4 separate regions of the Homo sapiens genome follow, and all the other regions are linked to region 1. Evidence: promoter capture Hi-C in 16 types of primary human blood cells and fetal thymus (Javierre and others, 2016). All regions are on one chromosome and are shown on one strand. Each heading gives the region's core, a stretch centred on a gene start or on the middle of the fragment in contact. The rest is flanking DNA. Distances are from core to core; before and after follow the strand shown. Region 1 holds the start of CCDC68 (coiled-coil domain containing 68). Region 2 has its middle 57 kb from the start of C18orf54. Region 3 has its middle 80 kb from the start of C18orf54. Region 4 overlaps C18orf54 (chromosome 18 open reading frame 54).

Region 1 (2,700 bases), core at 2-2,501:
ACACGGGGATACTCCCTGCCTTGGGCAGAAATTCCTCTGTGTCAGGGGCCTTCCCTCTCAAATTGGGAGTGGGGTGGGGAAGAGAGTGGGCAGCGGGGGAAAAGCATAACAACAGCACCAATTGTGTCTGCCAGGGTACCTGACACTCCTGCCCAGCTCACATATCAGGAAAACCAGACTTCAGTAGCTCTGAATATTTAATGGCATTAGGTAAAATCAAAAGAACAGATTATCTCCTCCCTATCACAAACACAGAATAATTCCTTTTTGTATTCTGACACTTCATCCGAACTATATACACCAAGAAAGTAAAAGAGGTTTTGATTCCTAAAATAAAACAATCAGAATATAATGGGGAGCAGGTACACCTTCAGTTATGTTCAGGGCTTGTTGCTTGTTCTGATCCTTATATTCAATTTTGTCTTCACTTCCAAAAAGGCTGAAAATTCACAGCTATGTTATCATCCAATCTAAAAACTACACTTGCACGGTCCCGTACTAACCTTCAGTAAGATAAGAGTGTTCCTTTGTCTAGCCGCCTAGCACTCTGTAACTTCCACATCTAAAATATCATGATGCTACTCAACATTAAGGAAAAGGTCAAGCAATGGGCTGCTCTTTTTACTACACCTGCGGCTGCAGAAGCCCGCACAAATGAATGAAGACAGCCACCTTCATTCATCTCTGCTCTTTAAAAAATGCGAGCGCAGTGACCTGTCAAAGCCACCACGCTGGAGTTCCTAGGTCAGGGCGTTTACCGCAGGACTTTTCTCCATAGCCTCTGAAATTAGCAGGCAGAAATCGCGGGGACCCCTGACAAACGGATTGTATAACAACAACCTAAATAAATAATCAGGTGTGCGCCGGACTAAGTAGGGGTTCCTCTCTGCGGAAAAGCAGCTCTTCCCAATGGGGAAGAAACTTCTCGCCCAGGAAATTCGAGCCCAGAACCGAGGTTTCCAGGGAGGATTACCTCTTCAACAAGGACCCTTTTACAGGAAATGTCCTTGATGCCAGGAACTCCACTGGGGAAGCCGCTGGAAAGGCACCTGGACACCCACACACATGGAGGGGATGCGGGGGCGCGCCGCAGGGACCGGGCCCGAAGGTGGCCAGACTCGCCTACCTTGTGGGGCGCCCAGCCGACGCGGGGTCCCGGTGCTGCTCCTCCCCTGGGCGATCGGACCTTGGGGCCAGGGTCGGCTGCCAGGGCCCTGCGAGTGCAGCCGCCACCGCCCGCAGGCTTGGCTCCGCCCCGCGGGGCGCGCCCAGGGCAGAGTCCGGCGCCGGTGAGGCCCCGGGGAGGAGTCGCGGCAGGACGCGTACGCCCAGCGCTGGAGAGCCAGGCTCTGCCCCTCACGCCCCTCGCTAGGGTGCTGTACAGGCGGGTGGGGGGAGGGGATCGGCCGCTGCTTTTCAAGAAGGTTCTATTTGCACCCTAAGTTTATAAACTTTTGTTTTTGTTTTTTAAATAATTTTTGATTTTATTGTTTTTAGTATAAATTTATGGAGTACAAGTGCAATTTTGTTGTTTTTTTAAAAAACTTTCTTTTGGAACTTAAAAAAAGTTGCAAAGATAGTAGAGAGAGTCGTCTATATACCCCTCAGTCGGTGTCTCCTAATGCCTACAGCTTCCATAACTGTGGCACATTTGTCAAAACTAAGAAATTCACATTGGGCCAGGTGCGGTGGCTCACGCCTTGGTAATCTCAGCATTTTGAGAGGCCAAGGCAGGCGGGAGGATCGCTTGAGCTCAGGAGTTCGAGACCAGCCTGGGCAACATAGCGAGACCTCATTTCTACTAAAAATATTTTTTAAAAGACATTAACATTGATCTGCCACTATTAACACTACTCCAGACTTGATGTAGCTGTCACTAGCTTTTTGGCTAACGCCTTTCCCTTTCAGGATCCCAGCCAGGATACCACACTGCATTTAGCATCCTGTGCCCTTTGTCTCCTCTAATCCATGACAGTTTCTCTGTCTTTTCTTGACTTTGACAGCTGTAAAGAATTCTAGTAAAGTATTGTGATGAAGTATTCTGGTAAGGTATAGTTTTGTGGGGGTACCTCGACACCCACTCATGTGGGTATTGTCTACTGTTTTTTTCTCATGATGAGACTGGGGGGAGGAAAGACTCAGAGATGAAGTGCCTTCCCCACTGCATCCTCTCAGGGACGATGGCACGATGGCCAGGTGACTTATCACTGGTGACTTGACCTTGATCCCATAGTTAAGGTTGTGTCTGCCAGGTTTCTCTACTGCAAAGCTGTTTTTCTCTTTCCATACACTCTACTCTGAATGGCATGAATGGCATGACTCAATTCAGCTGACACTCAAGATGAGGGCAAGATTAAACTCCATCCCAGAGCAGGGAGTATCTATATGTTATTATTTAGAATGATTCTGTAAGGAAGATTTGTTCCATCTCTCTTGTTTATTCAATCATTTATGTCAGTATTTGTTATGTCAGTATGGACCCATGTATATTTATTTTATACTTTGGGCTAGAATTCAATACTACATTATTAATTTTGTTGCTCAAATGGTTCCAGCTTTGACCACTGGGAACTCTTTCAGGTTGGCTCCTGTGTCTCTCTGAAAGTTCATAAACTTTTAGGATTGTGGGGAAAAAAAAAAGGTGTATTTCCTCCGCCCCCCCTCAACATCTAACAGATTGAGAAAACTGCAACCCAAATC
Region 2 (2,700 bases), core at 52-2,551, 540 kb before region 1:
GAGATGGTATCTCATTGTGGTTTTGATTTGCATTTGTCTGATGGCCAGTGATGGTGAGCATTTTTTCATGTGTTTTTTGGCTGCATAAAAGTCTTCTTTTGAGAAGTGTCTGTTCCTATCCTTTGCCCACTTTTTGATGGTGTTGTTTGTTTTTTTCTTGTATATTTGTTTGAGTTCATTGTAGATTCTGGATATTAGCCCTTTGTCAGATGAGTAGGTTGCAAACATTTTCTCCCATTCTGTAGGTTGCCTGTTCATTCTGATGGTAGTTTCTTTTGCTGTGCAGAAGCTCTTTAGTTTAATTAGATCCCATTTGTCAATTTTGGCTTTTGTTGCCATTGCTTTTGGTGTTCTAGGACATGAAGTCCTTGCCCATGCCTATGTCCTGAATGGTAATGCCTAGGTTTTCTCCCAGGGTTTTTATGGTTTTAGGTCTAACATTTACGTCTTTAATACATCTTGAATTAATTTTTGTATAAGGTGTAAGGAATTAATACAATAACAAATATTGTTTTGTGAAACTTTTGTTTCAGTAGTGTGTGTGTATTTACGTGTGTGTGTGTTTGTGCATGTATATCTGTACATGTACTGGATCACAGGGGGAAATGTATTTCTTGATGTGAATGTAGTTAAAAAAAAAAAAGTTTGAGAAACACTGATCAAGGAAGTGTTTAATCACTTAATCCAGTGATTAAGGAAGAAATACTAATGTCTAGCAAAGAATTACTCTTAGATATATAAAGTTATATGCTATCATTTTCTTTTAAAAATGTAAATGTGACCTTACAGTTGTGTGTAAATGTAAGCTTTCCTTTGAGAATGCTGGATCATGAGTATTACATTTTAATGATCTGGTTTGGTGTTGTGCACTTGTATAGTCCCAGCTACTTGGGAGGCTGAGGCAGGAGGATCTCTTGAGGCAGGAGTTAGAGGCCAGCCTAGGCAACACAGCAACACTCGATTTCTAAAACAAAAAAGAGAATTTAATGATCCTGAAATGATATGCAGTGATAGTACTTTGATTTAGTGGAATAACAGAGGAATCAGGAGAAATTCTTTCTACACCTATAATTACAGATAATAGTGTGGCTTTCCACAAGTCATTGCTCCACCCTGGGCTTCAATTTCCTCATCAGGAAGATGAGACATAGAAGCTAAGCTGGAATCTTTAGTATTCTTTACAATGCAGCATTTCGGTGTTTATATCTTGAGGCTAGTTCCCCTTAAGACCCTTAACACAGAGCTCAGGAAAAACTCTTTAAGCCAGCTATCATCTTAAGAAATGTAGTACCCCCTGCTCTGATCATGTCCTGATTTAACGTGAAATAATTAAAAGATACATTTTAAGTATACTTTAAAAAATAGCTCTTTTCATCATGTTTGTCAGTGAATTTTAGTTGAAGTTAGTTTAAAGAAAAATTTAAGAACCGAGAAAGGAGGCAATATTTCTAATGTGTCTTAAGTAGAGAATAATGGCTTTCTAATTTTCCCTAGGCAAAGAACAGGCTGTGGTCACGGGTGAACATTTTCCTGGTGTGTCTCTTGGCCTGCATCATTACCACAGCAGTAGGAGTGCTCATGCTCTCCTTGGTCTATATTAGCAACTCATGCAGACATTCATTTCAAACCTGAAGCCTGGCCTCTGCAAACAATGACTCCCATAGTATCAAAAGCTATTGATCCAGAATTTCAGTTTCTTAATCACTTACCTAAATCTAAAGTATGAATTACACACATTAGGAAAAATAATTATTCTTAATGGCAACTTTAAAACCACCTTCTCATTGTATGTTTACTAAGCTTTATTCTCTATTGGAAGGGATGAACTGTGAGCCAGGATGAAGGAAGGTGAGAGATAGAGAAGAGGGGAGAGTTGCGTTGTTGACCTCAGACAGAAATGTTCTTCAGTAGACAGTTCCATGTCTGACTAGAGTAGAGAATTGCACGTGGACAAATGGAAATTCCTCTATTCTCTTGCCACCCTAGGTGTCTCTTTAAATGTCTAACAGGGTCTAGACTGATAGCACTGCGTGTGTTACTATTGCCATTCCTGGACTCGTACAGACCTATTCCTCCTCTTCCTTTCTGGGATTCCAAAACTCACCTCACCACCATTGCCTTTTCCCTTTTGCCTCCTTCTTACTCTATAGGCCCCATGCTCTTAGGAGGTGGCCTCCATGCTTATGGTGGCTTGTTTATGGTTTTCCGGGTGTTTGACTTCCTTGATGGTACAATCCAGTGGGCCCGGTACAGGAACAATGTCAAAGACTATCTCAGCAATGAAGAAGAGGCCTTTGGCACCAGCTTGAACAGTCAGAGATCACAAATGACTCTGGGGACACTTAGGATAAAAAGCAATGGCCTCCAGGCCCTTCACTGGCACTTCAACGCCAGTGAACATGACTGTCTTGCTCAGGTATAACTAGTTTGCCCACACTCTCCTCTTAAGAATCTATGTTTTTTGTCCTGAGAGTAGTATTTTAGTTGTTACAAAATCTGCTTAACTAAGAGATAGACAAACATTCAGGCTTTGGCTATATATTCAACTAGATTAGTTAGCAGTGCCTATAAGCATTAGTCTGTTTGTTTAAATTATTTTTGGCATAACTTTGAACTCTTTTCTTCAGTATGAAATCATTTTTCACACACTATTGTTAAAATAAGATCACTGTTTGGTCCTCTGAGCCAAAGCTAAAACCG
Region 3 (2,700 bases), core at 15-2,514, 520 kb before region 1:
TTTCTGGGAAAGTCACTCTAGACATGATGGCTCATTCAGAGAGGCCCCTTCCGTGCTCCTCTTCGTGGAGTATGAGAACTATTCTGACTTACAACATAAAATGTTGAAAAACCTGTATATACAGGCACTAAAAATTCCCCAAACCCAACATATAAAGGACATAGGGAATCAGAAACTTCTTTCTAAAGGACTTAAGAGTAGAAGATGTGTAGAAAATTTGACTTTAGGTATTTTGGGACAGACACTGATTAAGGGCAACTTGATCTGCATGATGAATTTCAAGTAGGACTGGGGCTTCATCAGTCATGTATCCACAATAGTCATATAGGAAATTCGTATGGACTTGAATTACTAGCTGAAACTCTTCCCCAAAGTGTCTTTGTTTAAAGGAGAGAAAAACCACTGTTCACTAAGTGTCCCAGCCAGATTACTCTGTCACTTGCTACAGCATCTCAGTGTCTGGAATTCCACATGGCTTCTTACTGTATTTTAGAGACTTCCTGCTTGTAGTAAACCACTTCCTTTGCGAGTACGTCTGCTACTGTACTTGTCTGCTACTGTACTCGCAGCGTTCCAGACCCTCACTGTCACTTTGTTACCCTACAACTATATTCAATTTAACAAAAAGGGACCCTCAGAGCTGGGAAGGGACCATCTGGACCAGCTAGTCCAGGAAGCTCAGGGTGTGTTCCTAACAGTGTCCAAAGCAGACTCCATAGAGTTGGGCTTGGAGAAGGGGTGAGTCAAACTGGGGTGCTCAATGCCTCTACCAGCTTTCACCCTGCTCTGCTCCAAACAAAACAGAAAAGGGCTTGAAACTCAATGACCTAGTCCAATCCCTTCCTTTTTCAGATGAGAAAACTGGGGCCTGAAAAGCTGCTTTTCTAGATACAAAGCACATGAGAGTGATAACGATGTAACTGCTCTAGAAATTGATATTACCTGGTTAACTGAACCTCTAGTCTCACTGTGGAAGAGAGAGGTAAAAGGTAACACAACTTTGTAAAGCTTTGGTTTCATTTAGAGACTTTAACCTACCTAGAATGTGCTTGCCACCTCTTTTGATTCTCTTCATTATCGGAACACAGCTTTGGAGAGTTGTGCATGCTGTTGCAGGATTTTTTTTTTTTTTTTAAGAGACAGTTTTGCTTTGTCACTCAGGATGAAGTGCTGTGATGCCATCACAGCTCATTGCATCCTCCAACTTCTGAGCTGAAGCCATCCTCCAGCTTCACAGCCTCAGCCTCCCATGCAGCTGGCTCTACAGGCATGCACCACCATGTTTAGCTAATTACAATTTTTTTTTTTTTAAGAGGTGGGTTCTCTCTATGTTGCCCAAACTGGTCTCAAACTTTTGGCCTCAAACAATCATATTGCTTCAGCCTCCCAAAATGTTGGGATTACAGATTTGAGCCACTGTACTTGGCCAGGAAAGAATTTAATGGCAACTTTCATCTAGTGCTTCTCATGGCAGTGTTAGGCTGAACACTGGATACTATGGTGAAGACTGTTAGTTACTTTAAGCTTAACTTTAGTGCACAGCTCTCCTTTTACATGCCGTAAAGAAAACCATGATGAAATGATATACATGCCTAATCGACACCACACAGTTCCTGGATGACTTGTGATGATGCTGGAGGTCTTTGCTTTCACTCCTCCACCTGGCTAAGCCCATCTCTCCCTTAGACCCTCTGTCTAAAACTCTAGACTCTTGTCGGCATTCCCCACTTGACATTTCCACTTGCTTGTCTGATAAACATCTCCAACTCAACAGGAACGAAAGTCAATTTCTAATCTTTTGTTCTAAGACTGTTCTCCCTGAGCATTTTTCATTTTGGTTCCTGGCAATTCTATCCTTCCAAATATCCTATCTATTCTATACTCAGGTAAAAATCCTTGGAGTCATTTTTGCCTTTTCTCTTTCTCTCACATTTTCTCTCTACTCTGAGCTAATCCTGAATTTGACCAGTTCTTGCTACTGCCACTGTCACCACCTTGGGCAGAGTTATATCATTTATCTCCTGACTTGCTTCAGAGGCTTCCTAAGTTGCCTTTCTACTTCTGCCTTTGCATCCCACTTTCAGTCTATTTTTAGAAAAGTAGAGGGATCTTTAAGTTAAGTCAGATCATGTCATCTTCTTGTCAAAACCATCCAGTGGCTCCCCATGTCATCCAGAGAGAAACTAGAATCCTACAGGGTCCTATGTGATCTATCTTCTATTCTCTGCCCCTTTCCATGTCCCATCTGTCCATGGCCCACCACAACTCCCTCTCTGACTTCATCTTTACTACTCTTGTTCCTGGTCACTCACTGCTCTCCAGCCACATAAGCCTCTGGGCTGAGCTTCCAATTCCCTTGGCACACTTGTGTCTTACAGCATTTGCTCTGGTGGTTCCCTCTAGCCAGATTTTGAACCTCCCACACCTTCAGGACTTTGCTTAAATGTCACTTTCTCAATAGTCATCCCAATGAAAATGGATAAATGATTGCCACTCCACACATCATCCCATGCCTCCAGTTTTTGCGTGTGGATCTCATAGAAATATTTCTAGATATGGACTAGCTGAGTTCAAGTTATACACATTTAAAATGTTGCTGGCTCTTGCCAAACTACCATCCAGAGAGTCTTTACCAGTTTACATTTTCACCAAGAGCACATTAATTTCCTTACTCCAAACCCTTAATCATACTCTGAATTA
Region 4 (2,700 bases), core at 96-2,595, 580 kb before region 1:
TCAGCTTTTGAGAACCTTCATAGTCTGCTCATTTGAGTTGTATTTCTTAATTTCTGTCCTTACATTCTAATAATCATAACATTAATATGTAGAATGTAATCTATCTTTCTTTCCCCTCTCATTCTAAACATCATTGAGATATAAGCCTGTTCAATAAAGTCATAATTTTAAGCGAAGACTTGATTTTTAATGGACATATGTGTAGAAGTATACTTTAGGACAGTTGAAAAATGGCTGTTAGTTGTAGTGTTTTTACAGTAAATGGAAAATAAAAATATTTAATACTCTTGAAAATTAGAATTGTTTGGAAATGTAGAAAATATTTTTTAATGTTTTAATCACATTTTCAATACCATTTAATTTTGTAGTTATATAATTTTAATATTTTGTTATATTTGGTGTTTTTAATAATAGGTTTCAGAAGATGATTTCTCTAAATTACAGTTGAAGGAAAGTATGATTCCTATTACTAGGTCACTTCAGAAGTAAGTATTCTTTACTAATATGGATACAAATCCATCTTAGCCATTTCTTTGACATATGTAAAGTTACAGGGTAGAAGTAAGTAGTTTTAAGAGTAGCACTACTAGGCATATTTAAGCTTCTTGGAGCACACTGTTTACACTAAAAAACATTGTTTTCTTTTAAACTTGTGCTTTTTCCTATTCAAAGTGTTCTAAGGACCTAATGAGATAGCCTTAGACCTCTAAAATATAATGGATATGACTCATTTTTGAGTAGTAATAGCAACAATTTATGATAGTATTTTTGTGAGTATCCTATAACAGTAACTTGTATGAAATGTGTTTTCATATATTCTCTCTAGAATAAATTTAATAATAAATGGATCGTGATTTGGAACATCATTACAGAAATCTAAAGTAGATATAATGACCTGGATATAAAGATAGGTCTAATTTTCTTAGTTACAGTGTCTTAAATAATAAAATGGAGAAAAATACAAGTTGTTTCTATAGTCATGATATTGACAGAAGAGAAGGGTATTTATTTTGGAGTTTGTTGTGTGACTATGAAGTGTCCTCAGAAGATGGAATACTGAACTTAGGAAATACTGAGATTAAAAGTTTCTACTCTAGTCACACCATTTCACTTGGCTACCTTTTGTACTTTGAGAATTTGCTTAGGCTTCTGTGATCTAAGGAACTGGTGGAAAATAAAACACTAGACATGTAAACTTACGAATCTAATTGTCACAAATGTGTATATAGTTTTCATAGTTAAAATGTATCATGTATGATTACTTTTTTCTCTCTACTTAATTTATTATCTTTAGGGTATAAATAATGCACCTTTGTTTGTAGCTTGCCATAGTACTGGGGTATAATGTTTCATACCTAATAGAATTCAGTGAATAATGATAGTAATAGCTAACATTGAATGTTTACCAAATTTCAGTATTCTAAGTGCTATTGAATATAATTCATGTGATCTTCACAACCTTATGAAGTAAGTACTATTATTATTTTCATAATACAGATCGGAGAATAGGCATGGAGTAGTAAAGTAACTTGCCATAGCTAGTAAAAGAAGCGGGATTCAGATCAGGTAGTGTGATTTGAAAGTCTGTATTTTTAACACTACTCTCACTAATGATAGTGATGAATTATTCATTGAGACTAAGAACAGGGCCTCAGTTGATCATCTAGTATGAAGACTTCATTCTGCTTTAAAATTTGAGGTGAATGACCATAAGTTTTCCATTGCTCTTTAAAGCATTATACTGCACTTGTCACAGACCTATATGTGTTTTCTGAGTTAATGTACATATCCTAGATGTTTTTCCTGGTGAAAACTAACAGTGGATTGTAAGTCATTTAATCACCACAAAAATCGATACTGATCTATAAGTGCTTTTACCATTTGCTAGAATTTTTTTAATAGTAACTTTTTTTCTACTATAAGCAATCAATAGTCTTACCTGTATATGGAGTTTCATTTTTAGAGAGAGTAAGTTTTATGTTTTGTTAGATGGCCTTTAGTTATTAATTCTGTTGTATTAACTGGAGCAGTCTTAATTTGTCTTTACATTTCTAAAGTATTATCAGTAAGACGTTTGTACTGTAATGAAGTAAGCTTAGACTTACAAAAGTTATTTTCAGTCTGTAGATTAACTGTTTTAAGGACAATTTAAATTTAATTACATCTCAGAATTCCTTTTTCCAGGCGGCAAAATATTCTGGTTAGGTATATGGTCATCTTTTCATACTTCAAATATTTCAAATGTATTTCAAAATTTACAAAATATTTCCAAAATATTTCAAAAGTTACTGATTATACTTTGTAGGCTTTATTGGCCTTTCCTAAGGTAAAATCCTATTATGGCTCTTTACATTCCTCAAATAACAGTTTTTGTTTTTAATAATTTGGATGGCTATCCAGTTTTAAGATATATTTCATTAGCCATAGGGAACTGTAAGCTAGTAGTCTGGCCTTGTCTAGTCCCTTAAATACTCAGTTTTCTTATATTCTTCAATTAGAAATATGTGTTCTCTAGGAAGACTCATTGGAGCTGGGATTACAGGTGCATGCCACCATGCCCGGCTAATTTTTGTATTTTTAGTAGAGATGGGGTTTCGCCATGTTGGCCAGGCTTGTCTCAAACTCCTGACCTCAGGTGATCCACCTGCCTCGGCCTTCCAAAGTGCTGGGATTACAGGCACGTGCCACCATGCCTGGCTA

What was found. Contacts are between HindIII fragments. The CHiCAGO score rates a contact against its expected background, and 5 or more counts as called.
Region 2: a contact is called between a fragment that was not itself captured here and the fragment with the promoter of CCDC68 in region 1, in 1 of 17 cell types (erythroblasts). The highest score is 6.3, in erythroblasts.
Region 3: a fragment that was not itself captured here is called in contact with the fragment with the promoter of CCDC68 in region 1 in 1 of 17 cell types (erythroblasts); the score reaches 5.2 in erythroblasts.
Region 4: a contact is called between a fragment that was not itself captured here and the fragment with the promoter of CCDC68 in region 1, in 3 of 17 cell types (M2 macrophages, erythroblasts and total CD4 T cells). The highest score is 7.1, in M2 macrophages.

What each region holds. Positions count from the first base shown.
Region 1 is chr18:54,958,210-54,960,909 of GRCh38, forward strand. CCDC68 (coiled-coil domain containing 68) reads right to left here and starts at 1,252. Exons shown (of 12, transcript NM_025214.3): 1 at 1,127-1,252. The HindIII fragment of the contact is 7,607 bases long and covers 1-2,700 here.
Region 2 is chr18:54,413,742-54,416,441 of GRCh38, forward strand. It overlaps the pseudogene CUPIN1P. Among named protein-coding and RNA genes, the nearest start is that of C18orf54, 57 kb to the left of the region's middle. The HindIII fragment of the contact is 994 bases long and covers 805-1,798 here.
Region 3 is chr18:54,436,670-54,439,369 of GRCh38, forward strand. No RefSeq gene overlaps it. Among named protein-coding and RNA genes, the nearest start is that of C18orf54, 80 kb to the left of the region's middle. The HindIII fragment of the contact is 516 bases long and covers 1,007-1,522 here.
Region 4 is chr18:54,373,800-54,376,499 of GRCh38, forward strand. It overlaps C18orf54 (chromosome 18 open reading frame 54), which reads left to right. Exons shown (of 9, transcript NM_001288980.2): 8 at 415-485. Among named protein-coding and RNA genes, the nearest start is that of C18orf54, 17 kb to the left of the region's middle. The HindIII fragment of the contact is 1,493 bases long and covers 600-2,092 here.